Regions from separate parts of the Homo sapiens genome. Here regions 2 and 3 are each linked to region 1. The links are contacts of gene promoters, found by promoter capture Hi-C in blood cells and fetal thymus (Javierre and others, 2016). All regions are on one chromosome and are shown on one strand. Each heading gives the region's core, a stretch centred on a gene start or on the middle of the fragment in contact. The rest is flanking DNA. Distances are from core to core; before and after follow the strand shown.

What was found. The method cuts DNA at HindIII sites, captures the fragments that hold promoters and counts their contacts. A CHiCAGO score of 5 or more calls a contact.
Region 2: a contact is called between the fragment with the promoter of ZNF324 here and the fragment with the promoter of ZNF256 in region 1, in 2 of 17 cell types (total B cells and neutrophils). The highest score is 8.4, in total B cells.
Region 3: the fragment with the promoter of SLC27A5 here is called in contact with the fragment with the promoter of ZNF256 in region 1 in 1 of 17 cell types (neutrophils); the score reaches 5.1 in neutrophils.

The regions. Positions count from the first base shown.
Region 1 is chr19:57,945,607-57,949,662 of GRCh38, forward strand. ZNF256 (zinc finger protein 256) reads right to left here and starts at 2,100. Exons shown (of 3, transcript NM_005773.3): 1 at 1,836-2,100. The coding sequence starts at 1,868. RefSeq lists enhancers at 1,509-1,588, 2,079-2,178, 2,249-2,338. The HindIII fragment of the contact is 12,388 bases long and covers 1-4,056 here.
Region 2 is chr19:58,465,128-58,469,088 of GRCh38, forward strand. ZNF324 (zinc finger protein 324) reads left to right here and starts at 1,953. Exons shown (of 4, transcript NM_014347.3): 1 at 1,953-2,056. RefSeq lists enhancers at 1,684-2,300, 2,301-2,915, 3,334-3,453 and silencers at 1,943-1,992, 2,073-2,202. The HindIII fragment of the contact is 6,014 bases long and covers 1-3,811 here.
Region 3 is chr19:58,510,063-58,513,843 of GRCh38, forward strand. SLC27A5 (solute carrier family 27 member 5) reads right to left here and starts at 1,930. Exons shown (of 10, transcript NM_012254.3): 1 at 1,206-1,930; 2 at 659-868. The coding sequence starts at 1,893. It overlaps LOC105372485 (a long non-coding RNA gene), which reads left to right. Exons shown (of 2, transcript XR_001754024.2): 2 at 1-1,061. It overlaps ZBTB45 (zinc finger and BTB domain containing 45), which reads right to left. Exons shown (of 3, transcript NM_001316979.2): 3 at 3,468-3,781. RefSeq lists an enhancer at 1,633-2,147. The HindIII fragment of the contact is 7,866 bases long and covers 1-3,781 here.

The DNA of each region.
Region 1 (4,056 bases), core at 850-3,349:
GCAACTTGGCAGGCAGCATCCAGAGTGTGGATATAAACAGGATCCAAAATCCCAGACTTCCCACAGCTTACACTAGTGGAAGCAGCCTCAAAAATTTCTTTGAAGGCCTCCCTGCCAGGCTGTATTCCTTGCCTCAGACATAGCCACACAGAACCACAGGTGAATCACAGATAACCATGGCCCTATTCCACTTCTGTGCTGCACTTACCATCCCCTTGAGAGTCATATATCCACCTAAAGCTCATTTAAATCCCAGCCTCACTGGTCGTTCATCTCACACACAATGACTCTCACAAATGACCACATGACACTAACTTAATCTTCCAGCCTGAATGAAACACCCAGGCCCCATCAAGTTATCACAAAATCCTGGATACCCATAAAGTGGTGAATAAGCACGAGTTTTGGCCTGAGTGTCCTATGCGTTTGCATCCATCTCATGTCCATTCTTCTCTTGGGAGCCGTGGCCACTGCCAAACTACACTGTCTTTTACATACCTTGCCTTCATGACCACTTACTCTATCATCATCCTCCCAGTCTTGGCCCACTAACAGCTTTACAACCAAAACCTGGAGCTTGCCCCGCCTAACTGTGACCCACAGCTCACTAACCTTGGTGCGCACAACAGCCACATCTTGAATATCTGCACCCTGAACCACTCCCTAGATTTCAAGACCGGCACGTTCATCTGCCCACTTAACGCCTCCATTTAGTAGGCTCTGAAAGATCTGACTCTTAGCATGGCATAAACAAACCTGATATCCCTAGTGAATATTACTCCTATTGCCAATTTGTTCATCTTAGTTGATGAAACTTCTTTCCCTACAGCTGCTAATACCAAAAACCCTGGAGTCTTCTCTGAACCCTCTGTTTCACTCCCTCACCACCTACATTATGTAATTTAGTTGTCCCTTTTGAAACCACACATCCGGAATCTAACCACATCTCCTAAATCACGATCCTGGGCCAGTAACCCTCACTTGGACTAGTCTACCCTGATTTTCCTTCCTCCTCCCTCAACCCCCCAGTTTGTGCCCCACTGTGCACACAGATGAAGCCTGTGAAGACCTTGGTAAATTACCTCTTTTTTCTGATTCAAACTTGCTATTACCTCCTGAAAACACACTCAACTTCTCAGGCAGCCACTGCAGTCCTGACGCCTATCCTCCTGTTCTTTGCTTCCCACCAGAAAGCAAGGAGACTTGTGGCTTCATAAATGCACCCAGCTCCGTACTGCACCTAAGCATTTGCACATCTTGTACCTTTCTGGAAAAACTTTCCACACCCGTTCACATGGCTGCCAGAAATTGGAACAACTCTATATACCGGCTAACATGGACATAGGACCCTGGGCTTGGGGTTCACCCAAGGTCTTCAGAACTAAGGGCTGGGGGAATGGCACTCCACAACCCAGAGAACCTGTGGGTGGGAGTTAGGGCTAGTGAGAGACTGGGAAACCCTCCCCTTCCTGGCGTAGATTTCATAACCCTTTACAGCCAAGGGAAACGTAGAAAGAGCCAGGCCTCAGAGAAGAGCATCTATGGCGGTATTAGATGGGCTCAAGCCACCCCGTAGCCCCATGCCTGGCCTTGGAGCCGGGTGCCCTCGCAATGGCTGTGTCACCTCTGTGCCCCAGGGCTCAGTGGCGCCTCTCATCAGGGGCTCCTTGCCAGTCGCGCCCTCCCTTCCCTAGCACACCAGGTGTTGGAAACGGGAGCCCCTCCGGCGAGCCCCCGTGTCCTGTCCTGGGCAGCAGGGCCGCGAGCAAGCGCCCTCGGGGGTGCTAGGACTAGCGTGGGGAGGGCGGGGAAGGCCCAGAGGACGCGGCACATACCTGGGCCGGGGCCGTCAGCTCGGCCGCCGCCATCTGACTCTGTGAGCGGAGCGGGGCCAGAGAGGATGTCCTTATTCCGGGCCGGGCCTGGGTACCCTGGGCGCCGCCGAGCCTCAGCCACGCCTCTGTGCAGCGGGGAAGACTCCTCTCGCGCCTTCTCAGTCAGTCACGGATGATGCTGACCCAGCGCTCCGGGGCTTTCTACCAAGTAATCAGTCCAGACAAATGCCAAAACGACCGCCACAAGGAGGACAACGGAAGTCCCGCCGCGACCGCGCGTGCGCTTACGGAAACACCACCTTTCGGAGGCCTCATTGGCTGAAGGTCGCCGTCGCCCAACGCAGGCCATTCTGGGTAATGTTCCCACAGGCGCACGGCGGGAGAGTGAGGGTCGCCTCCACCTCCTTCCGGAAGTAAAGGCCAAACCCCTGTAGGGGGCGCTGGGAAATGGACACTCCAGGTTGGGGCGGAGGCGAGGCTTCGTTCTTTCTTAAAGGAGACGTACCCAGGTTTCTACCGATTGCTGTCTGCCAGTGTTTGTTTGGAGACGTGTCATTTCATGTGTTCCCAGAGGCACATATCCAGATGCACATATTATTACATACAGTCAGTCAGTCACAAAATATATCCACTGGTTGAGAAAGCAAATAAATATGACTATGTTGCGGCCGGGCGCGGTGGCTCACGCCTGTAATTCCAGCACTTTGGGAGGTCGAGGCGGGCGGATCACGAGGTCAGGAGATCGAGACCATCCTGGCTAACTCAGCGAAACCCCGTCTCTAAAATACAAAAAATACCACAAAAAAAAAAAAAAAAAGAAAAATTAGCTGGGTGTGGTGGCGGGCGCCTGTAGTCCCCAGCTACTCCGGAGGCTGAGGCAGGAAAATAGCTTGAACCCGGGAGGCAGAGCTTGCAGTGAGCCGAGATCGCGCCACTGCACTCCAGCCTGGGGGAAAGAGCGAGCCACTGTCTCAAAAAAAAAAAAAAAAAAAAAAAAAAAAAAAGACTATGTTGCAATTCAAACGCATGCACTCAAGCACTGGAGTCAGTTTTCTCAGTCTCTGTATGTTTGATTAGGGACAAGAAAAAAAACACTCCACACAGGTTCATGACAAAGAGGATGAAGGTGGGATGCGGAGGCACCCTGCAGCAGCAGGACATAAGTAGATCCCTGTCTCTGGGTCCCTCTCGTGCCTGTGTAGTCAAACATTGTGTCCAATTCACTAAGCAACACTTGCATGAATCTAATCTCACTTTCTCCATGCCTTTATATTCACTTCTTTTTAATAATTTGACATCAAGCTCAGAAAGAGAACAACAAAAGGAATGGTATTTTGAAAAGGCATGATGGCTAGCTAGAGCATTAACAGGTGGAACAAAGGGTGCTCTGAATCCCAAATGTAGGGTGTATCTTAAATTCAAGATCTCTTCTCAACGCTGAAATGATTATCTTTGCCCCCATTAGTTACGCTCTTGTTGCCCAGGCTGGAGTGCAATGGTGCGATCTCGGCTCACCACAACCTCTGTCTCCCGGGTTCAAGCGATTCTCCTGCCTCAGCTTCCCAAGTAGCTGGAATTACAGGCGCCCGCCACCGTACCCGGCTAATCTTTTTTTTTTTTTTTTTTTTTTGTATTTGTATTTTTAGTAGAGACGGAGTTTCGCCATATTGGCCAGGCTGGTCTCGAACTCCTGACCTCAGGTGATCCACCCACCTCGGCCTCCCAAAGTGCTGGGATTACAGGCGTGAGCCACTGTGCCCGGCCCTTTGCCCCCATTATTATAGGGCTGTTCTGCATAAAAAATTGATACGATATCAGAAAAAGAATTGTAAAATACAAATTACAGAAAGCTACTAATAATGGGTGTCGCTTCGCCAGCCAGAAACCTCTGTGGTCGCGCCTCTGCTTGAGTTTTGCTCACACCCGCTGGGCTTGTTCCACCCACTCGGCCCAGCAGGCTGCACCTGGATCCCACACCTACCAAGGGCGAGCCAGGCGCGGAGCCGCAAGGGGTGTGTGAGCGAGCAAGTGAAGGGTCCAGCCAGTGCACACAGCCAGGCACGCTGGCTGCTGCGGCGGGGCGGGCAGCTCCAGGCGCTGGCACAGGCGCCGGCTCCTTGCAAGTCTGCGACTGGACCAGACATACTGCAGGCGGCTTCTGCTGCAGGCACCAGCATCTAGACGAGGGAAAAATGGTGGCGCCGGAAAGCTCGGAGACACC
Region 2 (3,961 bases), core at 703-3,202, 520 kb after region 1:
CGCTCTGTCGCCCAGGCCGGACTGCGGACTGCAGTGGCGCAATCTCGGCTCACTGCAAGCTCCGCTTCCCGGGTTCACGCCATTCTCCCGCCTCAGCCTCCCCAGTAGCTGGGACTACAGGCGCCCGCCACCGCGCCCGGCTAATTTTTTGTATTTTTAGTAGAGATGGGGTTTCACCTTGTTAGCCAGGATGGTCTCGATCTCCTGACCTCATGATCCACCCGCCTCGGCCTCCCAAAGTGCTGGGATTACAGGCGTGAGCCACCGCGCCCGGCCCTGAACTTTAATACTTCTAAGTGTTGGGGTTTTTTTTTTCCCCCTCAGGGTTTTTGTTTGTTTTTTCCTGAGACAGGGTCTCTCTCTTACCCAGGCTGGAGTGCAGGGGCTCCATCATAGCTCACTGCACACTCCAACTCCTGAACTCAATCCTCCCACCTCAGCCTCCCATGTAGCTGGTATTACAGGCATGCAAGACCATGCTCAGCTAATTTTTATATTTTTTTATAAAGATGGGGTCACATTTTGTTGCTCAGGCTGGTCTCAAACTCCTAGGCTCCAGTGATCGCTCACCTTGGCCACCCAAAGTGCTCAGATTCCAGGTGTGAGCCACTGCGCCCAGTCCTGAAATGTTCTTAAATTCTTTCAAAGTAGCAAAATTTATATTAAAACATTCCAAACATGATGAGCTCCCTTGCTCTACAAGGATTTACAAGTAGAATCAATTAGGTGGACAGTTATAGCTGACAGTTGACAGAGAGATAGTTATAGATGGAGGTAGGTATAGAGGGAGGGAGGCAAAAAGAGTTAAGGAACTGGACAGCTGAGAACTGTCTACAGGTTCCAAAAACAAGACAAAGAACCTTTTATTATCTGCCAAACAAGACAGTCTACATTGAGACTGCTCTGCCTTTCGTTTTTATGTGTCAAAGACACTTAAATTGGCCTGTAATCCCAGCACTTTGGGAGAACGAGGTGGGCGGATCACCTGAGGTCAGGAGTTCAAGACCAGCCTGGCCAACATGGTGAAACTCCATCTCTACTAAAAAATACAAAAATTAGCCAGGCATGGTGGCGCACACCTGTGGTCCCAGCTACTACGGAGGCTGAGGCGGGGGGATCACTTGAACCTGAAGGCAGAGGTTGCAGTGAGCCGAGATTGTGCCACTGCACTCCAGCACGGGCAACAGAACAAAGACCCTGTTAAAAAAAAAAAAAAAAAACTTAAATGAGTCCCAAGAAAAAAGGAAAAAAGAATGAATATTGTGATGTGTGGGGCAAGACAAGATCTAGATGGTCTAAGGACAAGCAAATCTGGGGAATTAACTTCTGCCCATCCAAATTACAAGGAAAACAGATGCTTTGGGCAAGTGTCGAGGAACAGTCTCATACTTAAGACAAATGTAGGCTTACGGGCTGAGAATTCTTGGTGTAAAGGTTGAAAACGGACCTTAAACCTTTACGGGACATTGACACAGAGAGGTCAAACCCGCGCCCAGGACGCACAGTCAGTGAGAGGCAGAGCTGGGAAGGGAACCCGGAGCTCCAGGCATCGGCTCCTCCACCTCCACCTGCGCTACCCGGTGCATTTTCTCCTCCGTGCTCACTGCTGGTGTTGCCTCTTGGAACCTCGGCAGTTTCTGCTTTCGCACCTGCAGGGTTTAGTCTCCGGGACTGCTTGGGAGGACACCTGGAATGCCGAAGGCAGGACTACACACCGGGCGAATCCACCAGCGCCACCAAGCCCTTGAAAACCCGAGGCCGCCGCGCGACTCCATTTCCCAGCGCCCCGCGCGGCAGGGGCTTGGACGTTGCCAAGGAGACCGGTAGTGGCCCCGCCTCCACGCAGGGAAACAGGCGGGAACCACGTGACCCGGAAGGCTGTACGCAAGCGTCCGCGGCGCGCACTGGGCCAATGAGAACCGAAGGGCTGGACTTCCGGCGGTGGGACTGTCACTTCGCCGCCCGCGTCAGGCCACACCGGTGGTCTGGGCTGGGGACCGCGGGTCGGGTCCGGTTTCCAGGGGGTTCCTGGTGCTCGAGGCTGGCGGCGAGGAAGGTACTGGCTGAGGGCCCGCGTCGGGCCCGCCCTGCGCACGCGTCGTGATCAAGGGCGCCGGCCGCCGGCCGCGCCCCCAAGCCTCTGTTTCTCAGAGTGCGTCGTGGGCGTCCAGGGGACTGTCGGGCCGCGGCGGGAGCCATGCGCTCTCCCACCGTGCGGCAGCCCAGGAGGCTGCGCGCTGGGCGTTCCACGTCCATGATGGCCGGGGAGACTGAGGCGCGGGGCGGCCCCGGGACGCTGCTGGCGGGGAAAGGCTGGGTGGTCCACGCCTTTCTTCCCTCCCAGCTGCGGGTTCCGCTGGCGGCGGTGGCGCTGACAAGCCCGCGTCGGGGAAGCAGGGGAGTCCCTGCTCACACAGACCGCGCCCTCACGGAGGGAGGCCGCTTCCTAGACCTCGCCTAGTCGTCTTTCCTCTCCCTGCCCTGGGGGGGTTGCGGGGGTCAGTGCAAACTCCTGCGTCCAGGGCACTGGTGAGCTCCCGAGTTCGGGCAGCCAGGGGGCTGAGGTCCCGAAGGAGGCTCCGAGGGGAGAGTCCTGCGTGTGCAAAACCTGGGAGGGGAGCCGAAGCCCAGGTGCTTCTGGGACTGAGCTCTCTCGATGTGGAGCTGGAGTAGAGGGGATGTGTGCGGCTGCAGTATCAGGCGAGGGAGTGGGCTTTATCTCGAGGGCGTCGGGAGACATAGAAGTTTTGAACAGAATCAGGACATCCTCTGAGGACTTTAAAACGGTTCCACCGTTTGTTGCGTGGAGAACAGACATGCAGGGGTGTCGGCATGAAGGGAAGAACCGACTGCCACAGTCTGGGCAGCAGTGGAGGTGGGCGACCAGGTGAATTCTGGTGGATCTGCGGATGCATCAGGTGTGGGCTGTTTGAAGAACTAAGTACCCCATGTTGTTCAGCCTGAGCGCCTGGAAGAAGAGAGCTGCTGTAGATAGAAAGGAGAATTGAAAGGAAAGCAGGTTTCCTTCAGGGGAAAGATCAAGAGTCTGGGATGTCCCAGGTTGGTCATGTCACTGGACCTGACGTTGTTGGCGTCCTGGGCTGTGGACAGGGCCTATGAATTGGACTGAGGAATGGGCAGGGACTCAGCCAGGTGTGGGCAGTTATGGCTTGAGGGTAAAGAAGACCAGCTGGGATGCCTGGGGCTATTGGGAAGAGCCTAGCACCTAACTGAGGAGGGGAGGGTGGCAACAGAGAGGGGAAGAAAGGGGACACCGGGTGAAAGGAGGAAGGGATTGAGTTCCTCTGTGTTCACAGGTTGTTGAGGCTGCTCCCCTGTGGCGACTGGTGAGAATCATCCAGTCCCTCAGGCTGGATGAGCAGCCTGGAAATGTCAGGCAAGCAGGCTCAGCAGGGGAGGGTCCCAGTGATGGGTATGCCTGGGAAGCCCCTGCTGGGACTCACAGTTTCTTGCTACAAGAGCAGGAAGGGTGCATCTGGGGAGGGTCATGAGTGGTCATGCTGAGTCACGAGTGGACACCTGGGGCTGCTCTTGGTGTGGCAGCTGAGGGCCCAGCCAGGACTTGTTCTAGCTTGCTTGTGTATGGCGTTGCCAGTGGGGAGGCCAAGAAGGCATCTGGGGTCTGGTCAGGGAGGGCAGAGGGGAGGGGTCCCAGACATGTGAGGGAAGTGCCATCTGAAGATGGTGGGGGCAGAACCCAGGGAAGGAGGGTGAGTGTCTGAGGGACATCATGGAAGGTGGCTGTTGGGATGGGGAGCTTGGTCCTGGCTCACAGCCATACCTTAAACTAAGCTTGTCCAACCCACTGCCCAGGATGGCTTTGAATGCAGCCCAAAACAAGTTCGTGAACTTTCTTAAAACATGAGATGTTTATGCAATTTTTATTTTTTTTAGCTCATCAGCTGTTATTAGTGTTAATGTATTTTATGTGTTGCCCAAG
Region 3 (3,781 bases), core at 680-3,179, 560 kb after region 1:
TGACCAGAGGGATAGATCTCCAACAGCCAGGCCTACATTGGGGTTTGAGGCTCTCAGAGAACAGTCAAGTATAGGGATTTGTGGTTGGGTTCACAGGCTGAATTTGGACTGAAAGTAATATGTCAAGATCAAAGGTTTCAGTGGCTGTTTACTGGACACAGGAAGAATTCTGGCATTGACCTCTCAAATTACATTGGGGGTCAGAGTTCAGGCCAAATATCAAAATCAAGTCTGGGAGCAGTGGCTCACGCCTGTAATCCCAGCATTTTGAGAGGCTGAGTTGGGCAGGTCCCCTGAGGTCAGGGGTTAGAGACCAGCCTGGCTAACTTGGGGAAACCCTGTCTCTACCAAAAATACAAAAATTAGCTGGGCATAGTGGTGTGTGCCTGTAATCCCAGCTACTCAGGAGGCTGAGGCAAGAGAATTGCTTGAACCCAGGAGGTGGAGGTTGCAGTGAGCCGAGATTGCACCACTGCAGTCCAGCCTAGGCGACAGAGCGAGACTCTGCCTCGAAAAAAAAAACAGCCAAACAAAAAACAAATGTCAAAATCAGAGGGTAAAGTGGTTTCAGAGGTCAACACTGAGTCACAAGTCAAGTGTGGGGTCAGGTCAGCCTGAGAGTTCAGAGGCTGGTGCTAGGGCTAATGGGCACCCTCACCAGTGGTCCCCGAGGTATAGATGAAGAGGGCAGGGCTTCTCCATGTGATCCCAGCACGCAGGTCAGCAGGCACTGGGTGGGAGGGCGCTGCATCCAGGGCAGCCCCCAGAGCCCCCACCCCTGGTGTAGGGGAGGTATGGCTGAGGTAGAAGCAGCGGATGTTCTCAGCCTGCAGCTTGGGAAGGATCTCCTCCAGGCTCTCCCGGAGGTCTGCAGAGATGGGTCAGAGGAGAAACAGAGGCAAGGCTCACCTTTGAGGTTGCGAGGCGGGATCTGAGACCCACAGATGCAGGCAGAGGAGCAGCTAGTAGAGAAAAGCATCCATGTTGTTTGGTAAAGAATCCCATCATTAGTATTTTTGGTCAAATTGTGGGAAAATTAAACTCTGATGACCTGAGAACTACTTTCTGCTCATAAGTCTTGATTATAATTGCCTGTGAAAGTAGGCAGGTGGGGACCAAGGGCCTCTGCCAGTCCCAGCAGAACCCCTGTCCTATAGTCCCTGCCCTTGCCCCCTTCCATTCTCCACTGGCTCCAAGGCCCTCACCTGGGTCCACCACCAGCACCCGGGCCCCAGAGCTCAGCACAGAGTGCGCCAGGGGCATCCCCCGGCCATGCGGGTTGATCCAGGCTGTTGGGCAGCCCAGCTTGGCCAGCCCCAGCCACATACACAGGGCTGGAACGGCCTGGGAAGCCAGCACAAGGAGGGCAGTAGGCTCCCCGGCACACAGGCTCGCAGGGTCACCCAGCTCAGCCTTCAGGGCCCATGCCGCCTGGCAGGCCCGGGCATCCAGCTCACCAAAGGTGACTGAGCCGGCCCCAGGCCCCGTCCACACCAAGAGTGCCCTGCCAGGCTGCGCTCGTGCTCGCCGCTCGAAGGCATCTACAAAGGTGTCAGGCGGCTGCCGGCTCAAGCATCCCCTGATCTTCAGGCCCAGGTGGAGGATCTTGGCCAAGAAGATCACATCAGCCGGCAGCCAGCGTAGTCCTGGGGGCAGCCGTGCTGGCAGGAGGGTTAGTGCCAGGGCCGCAGCTGCCAGGCTCAGCCCATGGGGCACCCAGGGGCCGAGCCAGGGCCGTGCTAACATGGCCAGCCCAAGTAGCACGCAACATGTGGGATCCCCCAGGAGCCAGCGCAGGGTCAAGGCCACAGCGACTGGCCACACTGGCTGCCCCAGGCCCCAGAGCAGGAGCAGCAGCAGCAGCAGCAAGGCCAACTGTTGCCTGACACCCATGGTACCAGCTCCTCCCTAGGAGCAGCAGCTGTGGAGTGTTCAGGCTCACCTCTGGCCCCTCAAGAGTAGCCCAATGGCTCCTCCCCAGGGGTGGTGGCCCTGGCACTGCTGACAGTGGCTGGTCCTCTCCCCAGGACTTTGCCCCCAGCCCTTCTCCTCTACGTTTGTTTGCTCTGCCTGGTCTTGTGTGTGGGTCCAGCCCCTCTCTGCCTGGCGCTAACCCTTTCCATCACTGGCCTCTGGGTTCCCAGGTCTCTGCCCCTTGGGCACCACTAGCCTCCTTCCTGCTGTCCTGCTTGCCCCATCCACCCTCCAGGGCTGGCATCTAACTCCCTTGCCTCCCCTCCCATCCCTGCTGGGTACCAGACACTCAGAGCACAGAAATCCCTGCCCTTGGGAACACTCCAATCAGGCCAAACAGAAAAGCAACAGGACAGCAAGGTGGACCTCATTGGGAGGTCCTCCTGTGACACCCACTGAAACCCTGAGGAGAGGGGCTCAGCCAGGCTAAGCCCCTTGTCCCATGATCCGAGGAATCGTACCCTCCTGCCAGGCATACAGCAAGTGCTCAGTAAATACAGGAACACTGGCATCGCCTGGATTCAAACCCAGCTCTGCCCCCCACCCATGTGCTTGCTCTGACTCTCTGCTCCACCTCTGGCTTTGACGACGATGGAGTCCTGGGGTTCAGGAGACTGAAGTCAGCCCATGATGCACACAGTTGGATCATGAAAGCCCTGGCCTCTCACCTTGAGGAAGCAGTCTCAGAAGGTGAACCCAGAGGAGCTGCCATTGGCCTAGGAGCCTGGCAGGTCAGGCTGGGGTATGGCCTGGGGCCATACCCCACTCCACCAGCTCCAAATCCTTATGGCAGGGCACCTAGGCTAGGAGCCACTATTGTGCTGAAGAGGAGAGGGGCAAAGAGTGGCTGCTCTCTCCGCTGGATGCAGGGGCCTGGGACACTGGCTGGCCAGTAGGGGTGGTGTCCCCAACCGCCCAGCAGTCAGCCCCAGGATCCCACCCCTCACTGTTTCCTGCCCCCAACACGGCCATCGGAGCCCTCCCTGAACTTTGCCCCCAGCACCAAGGGCAGATATATGGGGGCTTATATACCCTCAGTGCAACCTGGCCCCAAAGATCCCCCTGGGCTCCCCACAAGTAAGGTGCTCAGCCATGTCCATCAAGGTCGGGGAGGGGAAGTCTTAAGTCCAAAAGACCCTTAGAGCCTGACTGGAAGATCTATGGGAGGGGCCTTAAAGGTCGTGGACAGCAGCAACCAGGAGTATGATGGGGCTTTCACGTGGCCTCCCTCTCGGAGACCCACCTCAGATGTGGCCTGCCTATCCTACTCCCCACAGGACTGAGGGATCCAAGAGAACCAAGTGCTGGTTATATATGCAGCCCACCTTAGCCCCTACAGAATAGAGGTCCTAGATGGCAAAGTGGACCATCCTGTTCCTGCCCAGGACAGCCTGTGGGCCGCATGGATGCCACCCAAGAACAGGGACGCTGAACCCTGACACTCACATCTTGTCTATGAGGGCAAGGCACGCACTGATCCAGGTGCTCACAGCTTCGTGGTTTAGGCCCCATGGCCTACAGTCCTTTATTAGAGCGAGAGTCCCGAGGCCCAGCCCCCATATATGATGGGTCCACTTGAGTCTCCTTAGGCGCCCCATGAGGGAGTAACAGCTTGGGTAGAGAGCTAGGGACCTTGCCCAGCCTGACCCTGGGGCAGGCAAGCGGCCCCCCAGCCCCCACCACCACCCCAGGAGAGGGCGGGGTGAGAACCGGAGTCAAATCTTGGGCCGGGTCCAAGCGCCTGAGCGCCCGGTTTACGCAGGAAATAGTCCAGTTCTCAGAAGTGGTCTAACCAGCCCCAGCCCCA